Regions from separate parts of the Homo sapiens genome. Here all the other regions are linked to region 1. Evidence: promoter capture Hi-C in 16 types of primary human blood cells and fetal thymus (Javierre and others, 2016). All regions are on one chromosome and are shown on one strand. The core of a region is centred on a gene start or on the middle of the fragment in contact, and the rest is flanking DNA. Distances in the headings are between cores, read along the strand shown. Region 1 holds the start of POU6F2-AS1 (POU6F2 antisense RNA 1). Region 2 overlaps VPS41 (VPS41 subunit of HOPS complex). Region 3 overlaps VPS41 (VPS41 subunit of HOPS complex).

Region 1 (4,271 bases), core at 1,729-4,228:
AAACTATCAGTAGAGTAAAACATGCTTTCCACACTTAGGTTTAGGTTTTAACGTGATTACTCTTGGGTGAACTTCCAAATGTAAACAATAGTTGATGTCAAGAACTCAAGTGAAAGAATCTTTAAACATATTCAGAGTTTTCTCTTTGTACCTTTTCTGGGAAAGTGCTATGCAGATTTTTAAGAAATTGAAAATGGGCTGGGTGGAGTAATCCTACTTTACATGGTATTTTGAGAAAGGCTAATTGTAAGAATCTGGTTCCAATGTATTGCTACCTTTTGTGCCACATTAACATAAGCCAAAGGAATATGCACACACACAAACAAAAAACACAAAATTTTTGCCTATCTCTTTTGGTGTAATTTGACCACAGGCTGTTCACCTCACTTCATAGGGTCACACAAGTATCTCTGTGCCAACAGTTGTAGGACATGCACCATTTCCTGGGAAGATAACCGGGTTTATATTCTGAACATCAAAAAAACAAAAAACAAACAAACAAAACCAACCATATCACTACATGAATATGGCCAATTATCCACTGGAAGTTTGAGTATTTTAACTCTTGAACTGTTTCTGCACTAGGTGGAAGACATGACCCCATTGGGCACATGTGTTAAAACTTAAGATTTCATGAGTAGGCATTATTGATTTCTCTGTGAATGTAATTTTTTTTCCACTTTAAGAGGTTTGTATGCCACATCAAATAAACGATCATACCACAGTTTCTAAAATAAGATATTTTAAAGTCAACTCTTATTCAATGTATGCACAGTACCAATCAATCTTCTACTTGGAAGATCATTTTCTAATGGGTACTTATGGGCTGGGAAAGCTATCCCTGGGGTTTGGCAAAGGCCAAAAAAAGCAAGTGTAGTAACTCTAGCTCCTGAGAATATCTAATTGGCAAAGTAATCAGCCCTTAAATCATCAGAAGAATAAACTCCTAATAATTCCTTCTAAATAATAATGGATTTTCTGCATCACAAGTATTCAAGTGATGGAGCATATCAGTGTATTTTACTTAGATGTAGGAACAAAAAAATCAGAAGGAAATATCTGTCGGTGGATATGGTTTCTATCTTGAACTCCTAAAATTTACATCTCAAGGGCCAGCTCCCTGGCAGGAGTGAGGCAGGGTGTCCTATTTCTGGGCACAGCTCTACGAAGCAGCGACCTGATGTGAGTATGAGTTACAGACATTAAAACCAACTTTTCCTCTACACCAATACCCCGTCCCTCCAGAAATCTTAATAGGCTTTTGAGAGCCTCCATTTAGAGCCGGCTGCATAAAATGATCCTTTGATGAAAAGGGATTGGAACAAGGGTTAAAGCAGACATTGAAAGGTTACTGTAGAGGGCACAGTGTTCATACAACCCTCCTTTAATATGTGCGGTGTGCACCTGTGATAAGATGATTCATTACATGGGGCCTCTCTTTGACAAGCTCCATCGTTCAGCCCTCGGGGTTCTGACGGGACAATACCACACCCGCCCAGGAAATAAAACAAGGTCAGCTTTTTTTCCCTGGAATGTAGACAGAGACGATTTAGCTTATAATGCATCTTTGTTTACTCTTTATGTAAAATAAAAACAGGGTTCAAGACATCAAAATGCCTGCTCTCCACAGAACAGGCCAAGCAGGGAGTATGCAAACACACTGCTGGGCAAATAGATAAGGCTGGGGGGAAAAGTCTTTGTGAGAATGCTAGCTCCTTCTCCCTTGGATTTCATGATCAGTCACACTGGAGAACCAAGTGTCCTAACCACTGGGCTCTGAGACAGGCCTTCAGATGGAGGGTACCCCGACATCATCAGCTTCATCTCGTTTGCTTTTTATGCAGCTTTTGGGTTTATTGGGTTGTCTGAAGCTCTTCCAGGATCTAGTATGAACATTATGTGGCACATTAGCAGCGTTGAGGGGACAGACCCTCTCTCATGACATGAGGAAAGTTTACTACCCCTGACATACTGAAGTAAATCAACAAGCATGCCAGAGGTTGCCTGGCTTCCGTAGGAATTGGCAGGAGGCCAGGGACCATGGGGCTGACTTGCAATTGGCTTCATTCTAACTCACCCCTTTTCTTTGTTGCTTTTACAAGACTTCTTCATCACCTTCCCATACATTCAAAAATTGGCTTTGTTAAGACTAATTTTGATATCTCTCTCACAGCAATTATGGAAGGAAACTGATCAGTTTCCCTCATTATCCAAGTTTTTCCTTAAGTGAAAAGTAAAAAAAAGCAAAACTGACATTTTATTTTTAAGATGTAACTTTTTTCTTTTTGAAAGAATGCCCCCTGTAATGCAAAGTAACTTCTTCATATAAGGTCATAACATGAGTCATAGTACAGAGATAAAAACAAAATAAAACTTTGGCAATCTAGAGGTAGGAAAAAAATCTTGCTTCTAAAACATAGAAACACCTCCCAACCCTTCTCCTATTCTTGACATTGCTAGTAAACATTATTTATTTGCCTCGAATAGATGCGGTTACATATCACTGTCATGCAAAAGAAATTCAATTCCTTTCCGAGTTCAATCTGCCATAAAAATGCACTCTTGTTCCCATCTCCCACTCACCTGTCCTTGTGCATTAGTAACTAGTTGACCTGTGACCCCCTGAAGACTGGAGAGGGCATTGCCAAAGGCCTGTGAGCTTGCTATGGAGCTCATGGCTGCTGCAGCCGCTGCAGCCTGACTTGCTAGTGGATTATTAACCAGCTGCAAAGAGAGAAAAGATCACCGTGAAAACCACCGAGAGGCACAGGCACAGCACACGGACACAACATTGACTCTGGGGAGGTAGTTCTCGCCTCAATTCGCTCATGCAAAGGGCCTGGAACCCACCGGAGGGGCGTGGCGAACATTCCCCCGGAAGCTCTGGGGTAGGGGGATGATGGAAACGAGGCTGGAAGGAAAATGTTGGGGAGCTTGGTGGAGTCTGGGTTTAGGGCTAGCCCAGGAGGGAACGAGCCTGAACTTCAGGGGTGAGGTGGGCTGTTAGGACCTTCTGGGGTGGAGAAATGATTTCGCAGAAGCCCTCTAGACTAAATAAAACTCAGGAAATATCTGCTTTCCCTGAGGTAACCAGACAGAATAGGAGAGTAAACAGGATGGGGATCGGGGAAAGAGAGGAATAGATTTTTAGGATTTCTAAGAATGAATTTATCATTTCCATTTGTGAATTGCAGTTTCTTTCAGGGACATCGAGCGAGGCAGGTGTTCCACCCCACTTTCTTGTTTGAGGGGAGAAGGAAACCAAAGCCAGTAGAAATGGAATTTATGGCCTCCGTGCTCTCAGAGGGTGAGTCTAGGGCTGCGACAATTTTGGGGCTTTAACCTAAACCACAGGATTCAATGCCAATGAGAAAGGTTGTTCGATGAATGGTCAGATTGACAACTGCTTGCTGTTGTAGCTGATACATGGTCTTTCCTCAGCCTCTTTCCTGGGACAAGAGTGAAACAGGGAGGAAGAAAGAGAGAGTGGGAGAGAGACCTGCCGGGGAGGAGGTTATGGCTGCCAAAATCTGTTTTTCCATGGAGACCAATTCAATATTCTCCTTCCTGCCAATTTTCCACGCCACAGGTTTTCAGGCCTTCTGACCATGAGGCAGAAGTGTGGCTTCAACTAAAATCTGCATTTAGGTTAATGACTAGATATAAATTCAAGAAACATTTAAACTATTTTCACAGTATTGGTTTTGATACATGAATTTCATTTGTATTTATTCTAGGGTGTTATTTTTTTCCCCATATAGTTTCTCTCAAGTACAACAATTGTTGTGTTGGAAATAATGCATTTTCCATCACCAGTTCCCACATCCATGAAATTCCTGCATTTTTTCAGAAACCTGCCACGACTAAGACTAGGTGGAAAAAAATTAATGCCATACCTAATTCAAGTCTTGGAAGCTCTTCTAAAAATGCCACTTTTAAAACTTTCCTTTCTTCATTTTTTGTCTCAGTCTCTCTTCTCTCTCTCTCTTTTCCTTCTTCCCTTCAAATCATATTTTATTTCTTAATTTCTTTGGAAATTTGCCTAGAGATTATACTATCTTATGAAGAAGGAAATATTAATTATCAGAGAAAACATCAAAAAGGACAGGAATTTAATAACTATTTTTTCATTAATGTGGTATCTTTATCTTATCGGTTTCTTTATTCATTTATAACTAAATTTCACACAACTGTTCTTCAGTAATTCTGCTGACCCAGCACATTTTTTAAAAAAAATGAGAATCCATTTTAAGTTGATTACTTTATGTCTT
Region 2 (4,841 bases), core at 551-3,050, 600 kb after region 1:
ACTCTTAAAACTTTGGTTTGGGGTTCTTTCCCTTTAAAAAGCCATTATATATCATCATTCTTTAAGGAAAACCTGTTTTTATTCCCAGTACAATCAAAGCACCCTAGGGTAATACAAGCAAATTATTTCCACTTACTACAGAAGATATATATATATATGAATGAGATATATCTATCTATCTGTATATATGGAGGGGTGTGTGTGTGTGTGTGTGTGTGTATGACAAAACAAGTCTTTTAAAAGTGTGATAATAGTTTGTGATTTAGAATAATTTATTTAAAAAAGCCATTATAATTTATTTTACTTATGTTAAAGGCTTTAGAAACATGTAACTGTGTCCGCAATTTAATGACTTGTAACATACAAACTTTGATTTATTTGGATCCATTAAATTTTATCATGTAAATATGTATTTACTAAGTACTAAAAAGTACCATTTTCTTGATAAACTATAATGATCTGTTTGCATATGGTTAAATGGAGATTTTCAAAATGTGTATCAGCTTGGTGTGGTTTGCAGAAATCTCCAGAGAATTTCCTTTTTCTACATGTTGTGTGGTATGTACTTGTAAAGATTATTTATGCTTCATGTTTTTGACATTAGCGTGTTTTGTTTGTTTTGAAATAGATTTATTTAGTTGAGGTATTTTAGGATGTATTTTTCTAATTTCATTAAGAAATATATCTGATGTTAAAAACTAAAGGCATTTAGAAGGTTACATTAAGAAAGGAGGACTTGTGAAATGATCACTTTCATTTTGAAAGTGTTCGCAAATTTTTAGGAGGAGCTGCTCTTTTTGTAACTGAGTTATAGAGGTTTATATCTTTGAAAAATGAGATAACTACATTGGCTCAGTAGCTACTTCAATCCTTTCAGCTGCAATTTTAAACTAGCAGCAGAAACTAGGCAGAACAATTTTGAAAAGCCCAACATTTAGCAAATGGTTATAACCTTGCAATAATCATGTTATAGATATCAAGATCCCTCCTCTGTTGAGAACAGGTGGCAGATCACATAGGGGGAAAAGAGAATAAAGACATATGTCAGATAACTGAGAGGTTATGACTTTCTGCCTTTAAGAAATAATTTAATCTTCAAAAAATTGGAGCAAAGACTAGCCAAATGAAGGTGTAATGTGGAATAAAGACATTCTTAACCCTTAAGAACAGTGATCTCTAGACTGACAGCCAAATAAATCGTTGGAATTATATGCCACCTTCTACAAACAATGGGTTAAAGTGGCACAGAGACTAGAGGAACTAAGTAGAAAAATAGAGGACCACTATGAGATATTCGTGAAGTCATAAGAAAATTTGAGAGAGATGTCTATTAATATTTAATAGTTCTTTAATCTTATTACAATTTTTGATTCCTATAAAAATTATTAAAGTAATTAGAACATACTTTTCAAAGTATGCAACATACATTGCAGAACATAGCAATGTAACAGAAGAAACCCTGAAACTGTAGTTTGACAGCTATTTCCTTTTCAAAGTTCTGGCTTCTTAGGTGTTCAGAGATAGCTCTTTATCCACCAGGGACTAGGACTAGGAGGCTATAGTTCTGTCTGGCATAAACTTTTATTTTAGGTTTTCAAGGTATCTTCTTAGTAGTTGAATGCCATAGCTGGATTTATGGACTCCAGTGCTTGACACATGAGCATAAAAAGCTTATTCCATATTCTGTTTTGTTTCCATCTTGAAAAAAAAAAAAGAGAAAGCACATCTCTTAAAAGTGCCATTGGAGAGAGCTTTCAAACACGTGAACCAATGAATTTTTTTTGTAAGTGTAACCTTCTTTTGTAGCAAGAATTTTAATACAGGAGCATGGCAAATGAAGTTTCTATTTTAGAAATAAATCTGTCAAGTGAATGTTGTCTGGATTTTTTTTTTTAATTGTCCAGCTTTCCCTGTCAGCAGGTAAGCTTTAGCTTCATAGGACCTTTACTTTTGAACACTGAAATACACTTTATAATAACTGGTTCTACTACTTTGACAAATCATTAAATTGTCGCGATGCTGTTTGCAGTGGAGTTCATTTTTAGAAATCAGATAGTCAGCTGTTTGGCGTTACGGTGGGATAGAATGAGGGGACCTGGCCGCAGGGGCAAGTTGCTTTGTAAGCTGGAAAATGTCAGTCAGCAAACAAGGAAAGGACTGGAGTGAATGAAATGAGGAAAATTTGAAATGGCAAATTTTACCTGAAGGACAGAGATGGTAGTGTCAGCCAGCTTCTATAAGCTTCCAGCAGTGGTCTGCAAATAATAAATTGGATTTTGAATCCTTTTTGAGGGAGGATTCAATATGGGAAGCTTTTTATAAAACTGTAAATATTTAAAAAATTATTATTAAGATTGTTTTTAAATTTTATTTCTTTTGCCCATGTTATCAACATTTTTATTTTTTTCTAGCTTTATTGAGGTATAATTGACAAATTAAAATTTTATATTATATATATATATAAAATATACATATATATATATTTTTGTATTTTTAGTAGAGACGGGGTTTCACTATGTTGGCCAGGCTGGTCTCAAACTCCTGACCTCGTGATCCGCCTGCCTCGGCCTCCCAAAGTGCTAGGATTACAGGCGTCAGCCACCATGCCCAGCCAAATTATACATATTTAAGTTATACAATGATGATTTGATATATACCAAATGTATTTAGTATTTATTGTGAAGTGATTGCCACGTTCAAGCTAATTAACATTATCAGTTGCCTCACATAGTTACCATTTCTTTGGGGATGAGAATACTTAAAATCCATTGGTAAATTTTAAGTATTTAATATGGCATTATTAAATATAGTAACCATAGCGTACATTAGATCCCCGAATTTATTCATCTTAGAACTGAAAGTCTGTGCCCTTTTGGCCAGCATCTGCCAATAGCTCCCAGTCCCCTGGCTACAAATCTTTTTAGAATCTAGATAATCCGGTGAGCCTTTTCTTACCACTGCCATCCCTAAACATGAAGTGTAGGAGTGCTTCCTCGTGTGTTTGTTCATCTTTGGGTCAGATTGGAGCTGGGGTTTTGGTGGCTAGAAGGGTTTTGACATTAGCAGTTCCTCTCTGTCTCCTGTCCAGTGTTTGGATCTCTAGGATAGTATTTCCGCAAGTTTTCAGATGCTTGATTGTAGCCTTCTACCTGAAACTTCTTCCCACATTACTTACCATTGTAGTTTTCAAGTGAATCGTCTGAACATTTTTAAGAATTAAAATTAAGGCTCCCTAGTTAATTCACAGTTACACCACAGGCAGCCACCAATCTAACGGTTGCACGTTGAGGCATTGTAAATACATACCTTTATTTATTCTAGGTACTGTGTTGTAAATTGTGGTCTCATTCCTAGAAATGTATTTCATGCTGTCATCAATGTACCAAAATTGATTAAAAACCATTGATTAGCAGGAAGTAAAACACAAATGTAACCTTCACAAGCATTTTTTTAGATATGAAAAACCAAGCAATAAAATAGCTCTACTGTTTAAAGTATTTTTCGGTGAGTTTTCCTATGTATACTAAGCTATCTGAGGCTAAAAATAGAAATATAATGCTTAAATAAAAATCATTTTCAGTCGGAAAAACAGGTGTTCTTCATTGCTGATTGCTTTTTTGATGTCAATATGTAGGACTCCCAGAGTATTTGAATGGTATCTACAGCGGTCAGGGTGGGAGAGTTGGGTCCATAGCAACTTCATTTTCCTTTATGATTCCCATTGTCTCATATCCATCAAATGCCTGTTAAAAAATATACTTTTTTCTTTAATGAGTTCAGCTAACTTTTTCATATATTTCCATACTGATTGTAGCTTTCCCCTGAACTCTGATGTTAAAACTACCATCTCTCTTCCTTATAACCATCTTTTGCTCCTTGCTGATAATATCTTCTTTTGCATATGGAGAGTCCTGTGCTTATTCTTAAGTATTTTGAGCAAGGACTGCAAGTGTCATTGCCAGTTCAGAGGTGTTCATTAGATATTCTTGTGGGATTTAACATCAGCTGATTCATTAACACAGAGGTTCTCTTTCTCTCTTTTGCTTTAAGAGAAGGCTGTATAAAGCAAGGGGTCACAATTGCAGTCATTGTTAGTTGGTGTCGTGGTACAAACTAAATCACAGTCATTTCACAGGAGTATTTGGTTTGAATCTGCTTCCTGAATACAACCTTGTGTCATGCTTCATGTTAGGTGCTGTGTGTACACAGGATCTTGATTTCAGAAATGGTGGTAGGCTTCCAAAAGCATATAGATAGGATGGTGTAGGTAGAATATAGTTAATAAGACCATTAGTCAGAATAGTGACTTGACAGGAAAATGAGTGTATTTGTATATTCACATACAACACTATGGGGTAAATTTACAGTCCTTTATTTGTCTTTAAGCCTTTTGGATCCCCCTCGACCTGTATGGTTTGTTTGTTTTCCTTTTAATTTTCTAACTCAGTTTCAGCCAATTTTCTTGATATTTGTAACAGTGAAAATTGGTACAAGCTGTCTAACAATAGTGAATTAGCTGTGTCAGTGCCCTGCGGCCAAAGATCACCAGGAGTACCCCATATGGTTTTAGGAAGATGTTAGAAGAATTGTAGGATTTAGGCTGGTGTGAGGTGATTTTGGGGAGGTTTAAGGCATCAGGGCTTTGCTCTAGATTGGATGCTGTCATGAAGCATGAGTAATTCTACAGCTGGGCATTTTGATAAATCTTATCTAGAAGGAGAAAAGCCTAAGCCAAAGCCAAAGTCATAACTGGTAAAGAAGCAGCAGTCTGTCATTTTAGCCAAAGTGGGAGGTGTTTGGTCATTGCCACGACTTGGAAAATGTTCATGTCTTGTTTGCAT
Region 3 (4,380 bases), core at 374-2,873, 610 kb after region 1:
GAGAAGGTTAAAATTAAATCATCCTGCTGCTTGGTAATAATTTGATAGAGTAGAGACCCAGACTTATCATCAATAATAAGATTTGGGCATATTTTCTGAAGTTTAATTATCTGACCCTTATGCGCCTGGGTAAATGAAATTTAGCTGTTCTGTGAAAGGGGGCCCAAAGCTCATTCACATTTATTTTATGCCTACTAGTGCTTCTGTTATATTAGATACTTCAGAGCCAAAAGTTGTTTCCCTTTAAAAAATAGACAGCTTAATTCGAACAAAATAAACTAAAAATTAGTGGAAGTATAAAAATGGCATGAGAGAGTATCCCAGCAGTAGTCTCATGGAAGAGCTCAGGCTTTGAGGCCAGACAGACCTGGGATCAAGTCCAGCTTCTCCATTTTCCTTTGGGATCCTCTGTGAGCCTTACTGTCCTCATCTGCAAAGTGGTAGTGCTAATTGTTCTCACATCACAAGTTTTGGGGAGAAATAAATGAGCCAATGCATGTAAAGAGTTTTGCATAGAATCTGATGTAATTGCTTAATAAATGTTAGCTGTCATTATTATATAAAGTTCTAGCAATGTCATGAAGGGGACGTGGCTATTTAAAATGTACTCTTCTCTGGAAAGGGAAAGTGGAAAATTATTAATGTAATGATTGTTATTAGCAAAACAAACATTGTTACACTTCAGGCCCTCCCAGCCCTCATGTTGTTATCATTCAGGTTCTTTTTTCTTCATGTGTTACATGAACACAACCTGATTTATATTTAGGGTAACAGGAAGGAAACTGTGCCTATATCGTAGGATGGAAAAAGGGATTCCCTGGGCTCCCTGTCCCACGTGTGTGGTTACTCATCCAATAAATTTATATTCTTAGTATTTTAAAAATCCCTTAAATGGACCAGGTTGCTTGTTAGTTTTAAAGTTCTGATTTTCTTTTCTTATGGTGAAAGACAAGGAAAATTAGCCTGTAGAAATATGTAACAAGTTTACTCATTACTCCCAGAAATTCTTTCTCTGGTATGCTGAATAATGGCCCCAAGGATAGCAAGCCCTAATTCCTAGAACCTATAAATGTTTCTTTATATGACAAAAAGGTAAATATTACTTTATTTAGCAAAAGATATGATTAAGTTAAGGATCTTGAGATGGGGAATTAACCTACATTATCTGGGTGGGCCCTAAATGCAATCACGTTTATCTTTATGAGAGGGAGGCAGAGGGAGATGCTAACATGGAAGAGAGGAGGAGAAGGCAGTACCACTGTGGAGGCAGAAATTGGAGTGAGGTGGTCAGTGAATGGTGGCAGCCACCAGAAAGCTGGAGGAGACAGCAGATTGTCCCCTAGAGCCTCCAGAGGAAGTACAGCCTTGCCAACACCTTGATTTTAGCCCAGTGAACCCAATTTCAGACTTGTAGCCTGCGGAACTGTAACAGATGTTTAAAACAACATCTCTGTTGTTTTAAACCACCAAGTGTGGCAGTCTGTTATAGCAGCCATGGGAAACATATACCCTTTCTTTATGCCCAAGTTAAGATCCAGCTTCTATACAATTTTTATGTCAAATATTTCATTTTATTGGAGGTTCCTTTTCTTCAAACTCAGTTCTATATGTTGAGCACTTCTCAGTGTAGACTCTTAGTGAGTTCTGTTGAAGGAAGAGGAGATAAGGACGTGGTCTTTCTTCAGAGGGACAGCAATCTTGTTGGGGAGAAGCAACCAGAAACAGTAAAATAAAGTGTGCAATTGGACCTTACCATTTACTTCATTCATTCATTTGCCCAACAAACGTTTACCAGGTGCCTGCAGTGTGCCAGGCAGTGTTCTAGTGTTGCAGAACACAAATATACAAATGAATGAGTTCCTTCCCTTGGGAAATTTATGTTCTAGTGAGGAAGGTGGACAAAAACAAGTAAGTATAGCATGTTGAAGGTGGCAAATAAAAAGGAGAACATTTTAACAGGATAATAGGAAAAGGGATTGGGGTAGGTACCATTTAATATAGGGTGGTCCAGGGATGGCCTGTCCAATAACTAATATGTTGTTTGGTCAGAGATCTGGAGAGAAAAGTTATACAGCTCTATGGGGGCCTGGGGTAGGAGGTGTTAGCAGAAGGAGCAGGAGTGCAAAAATTCTTGAAGCAGGAGTGTGATTGGTGTGCTTTTGAGGAACAGCAAGGAAGCTGTTTGTGTCAGAGTGAGTGGAGCAGATGTGGAGGAGAGGGATGTAAGTGGGGGTCGGGGAGGGTGTGGTGGAGGAGCAGGTGATGTTGGAGCCCAGGGGCCCTTGAGAAGTCTTTGGCTTTTAATTTGACTGAGGTAGGAAGCCAGCACAGGGCTTTGAGCTGTTGTGGAGTCAGTTAAGTGATCTAACTTGTATTTTGGAAGGATCTCTGGTTGCTGTGTGGAGCTAAACGGCAAAGGGGCAGTCAAGAGGGGAGACCAATTAGGCTACCGCAGTCATCTCCATAAAAAATAATGTTGTCTCAGGTCAGTGTAATGCAGCTGGTGAGAAATGACCAGATCCTGGATATATTTTGATGGTAGACTCTGCAGTATTTGTTGACAGTTGGATGTGGGGTGTAAGATCACAGTCACCTAACATACTGGAAGGTGAAACTACCTTTTGCTGAAATGGGAAAGACTGTTGATAAAGCATGTTTAGAGTGAAAAAGGCAAGAGTTGGTTTTAGGTGTGTCTACTTGAGAGATGCCTGTTATCCACCCATGTGGAGAAGTGGAGGAAGCAGATTAGAGTTCATGGGCAAGAACCCACCTATCAGTGGTAAAGGGCTCTTACAGTCATTGATTTGTGCTTATGCAAGACATGAGCTTAAGGTAGCACTTACCTATTCACCCACCTTTACCTGCCACTTCCTACCTATGAGACAGGTGCTGGGTGAGCCCAGACCACAGAGCTGAGGAGTGCAGTAGAGCCATGCCCAGCTACCAGTAGTGCAATGCATCCTTGTTCTCAAGCTGTGGCATGACCAGCGAGATACCAGTCAGGCCTTGGTGTGAATTCCAGCTCTGGCCAGGCAGTCTGGCATCACTCACAGAGCCTCAGTGTCCTCATCTCTGGATTAAACATAATAACATTGTCTTTCAGGGGTGTCTGAGTGTTGGAAGACTGTCAGCCCTCAAGTTCTGTCAATGTCTCTCAAATCTCTGCACTTCATCTTCCTGTCAAGTCTTTTTGGTGCTGGTTTTACCCCCCCTAAACCTATCCTAAACAGTATAGCTAGAATAATCTAAGTGCAGGTCAGATGAGGTCAGTCCCCTCCTTGCCCATAGGATAACTGATCATAAACATGACTTCCAAGGTTCTTTGTGATCTGCCTCTCCGTTACTCTCCAGCCTCAACTCTGTCCCCTTCTTCCCCCATGCCCTTCATTTCTGTCCGATTGAGCTTCCAGTTGAAGGCCCTATGCTGTCATATCACCGTGTTCTCCTGTGTTGTCTCTCCTGCTTCAACTTACATGTCACTTCTTCCAGGAAGTCTTCCTGCCCTAGCAGGAGATGCCCCTGCTCTGTACTTCCCTGTCACACTTCAGTAAAGTGCCTTATTTTTGTGTCTCCCCCACTGCACCATAATCTTAAGAAAATAATGATATCTATTTCACAAAGGCCTTAACTCAGGAGCACTGCCAGTAACTGCCCAAAAAAGTGTTCACTAATATTGCCGATACATTTGCTTTTTTATTATACTTCAAACCATTTGAAAGACTGTTCCTCATGTACTTATATCAGCACATTAAAACAGTTGTCCATTTGGCATTGTGGAATGTGCCATTAGATGATTTAGTAGTTTCCCTAGTAAGTGTGGGAAGAAGAGTGGATAACTTATAAGCTCAAAAGTCTACCAGAAGGGAAGAAAATTGGAGAAGTGGACAGGCAGTTATATGAAACGGACAAGAGACAAATGGCAAAAAGCAATCAAGGAAGAAGACAGCCGGTCACTTCTATGTGGAGGCTTCTACCTCTGCAGCCATGGGTTCAAGCCCCGCCTGAGGGAAAGTGGGCACTCTGCATTCACTGAGTCGCTGCAGTGTTGCTGGGCAGCAACTCAGTATACTACGTATATTAAAAAACAAAACCTTACAAAAGTTTATGTACCCATTGGTATCAATTCTACTTCTAGGAATTTATCCTAAGTAAACAAAAGTCCTAAAGTTTTATATATAAGTATGTTGATTGCACTATTGCTTACAATAGATATAAAAACAAAAAAATATGCCCCCAAAGGGGGTTGATTAAGTATAGTACATTCATGTAATAAAAGGCAATCATCCCTCAGTGCCTGTGGGGAATTGGTTCCAGGACCCCTGTGGATCCTGGGCTCCTCTGATGCTTATATAAATGATGTAACATTTGCATATATAAAAT

Evidence for each region. Contacts are between HindIII fragments. The CHiCAGO score rates a contact against its expected background, and 5 or more counts as called.
Region 2: a fragment that was not itself captured here is called in contact with the fragment with the promoter of POU6F2-AS1 in region 1 in 1 of 17 cell types (megakaryocytes); the score reaches 5.7 in megakaryocytes.
Region 3: a fragment that was not itself captured here is called in contact with the fragment with the promoter of POU6F2-AS1 in region 1 in 1 of 17 cell types (naive B cells); the score reaches 5.8 in naive B cells.

What each region holds. Positions count from the first base shown.
Region 1 is chr7:39,405,053-39,409,323 of GRCh38, reverse strand. It overlaps POU6F2-AS1 (POU6F2 antisense RNA 1), which reads left to right and starts at 2,978. Exons shown (of 4, transcript NR_046711.1): 1 at 2,978-2,990; 2 at 3,205-3,307. POU6F2 (POU class 6 homeobox 2) reads right to left here. Exons shown (of 10, transcript NM_001370959.1): 6 at 2,584-2,724. The HindIII fragment of the contact is 9,360 bases long and covers 1-4,271 here.
Region 2 is chr7:38,806,975-38,811,815 of GRCh38, reverse strand. All of the region lies in intron 7 of VPS41 (VPS41 subunit of HOPS complex), which reads left to right. Among named protein-coding and RNA genes, the nearest start is that of VPS41, 100 kb to the left of the region's middle. The HindIII fragment of the contact is 255 bases long and covers 1,673-1,927 here.
Region 3 is chr7:38,790,680-38,795,059 of GRCh38, reverse strand. All of the region lies in intron 9 of VPS41 (VPS41 subunit of HOPS complex), which reads left to right. Among named protein-coding and RNA genes, the nearest start is that of VPS41, 120 kb to the left of the region's middle. The HindIII fragment of the contact is 7,889 bases long and covers 1-4,380 here.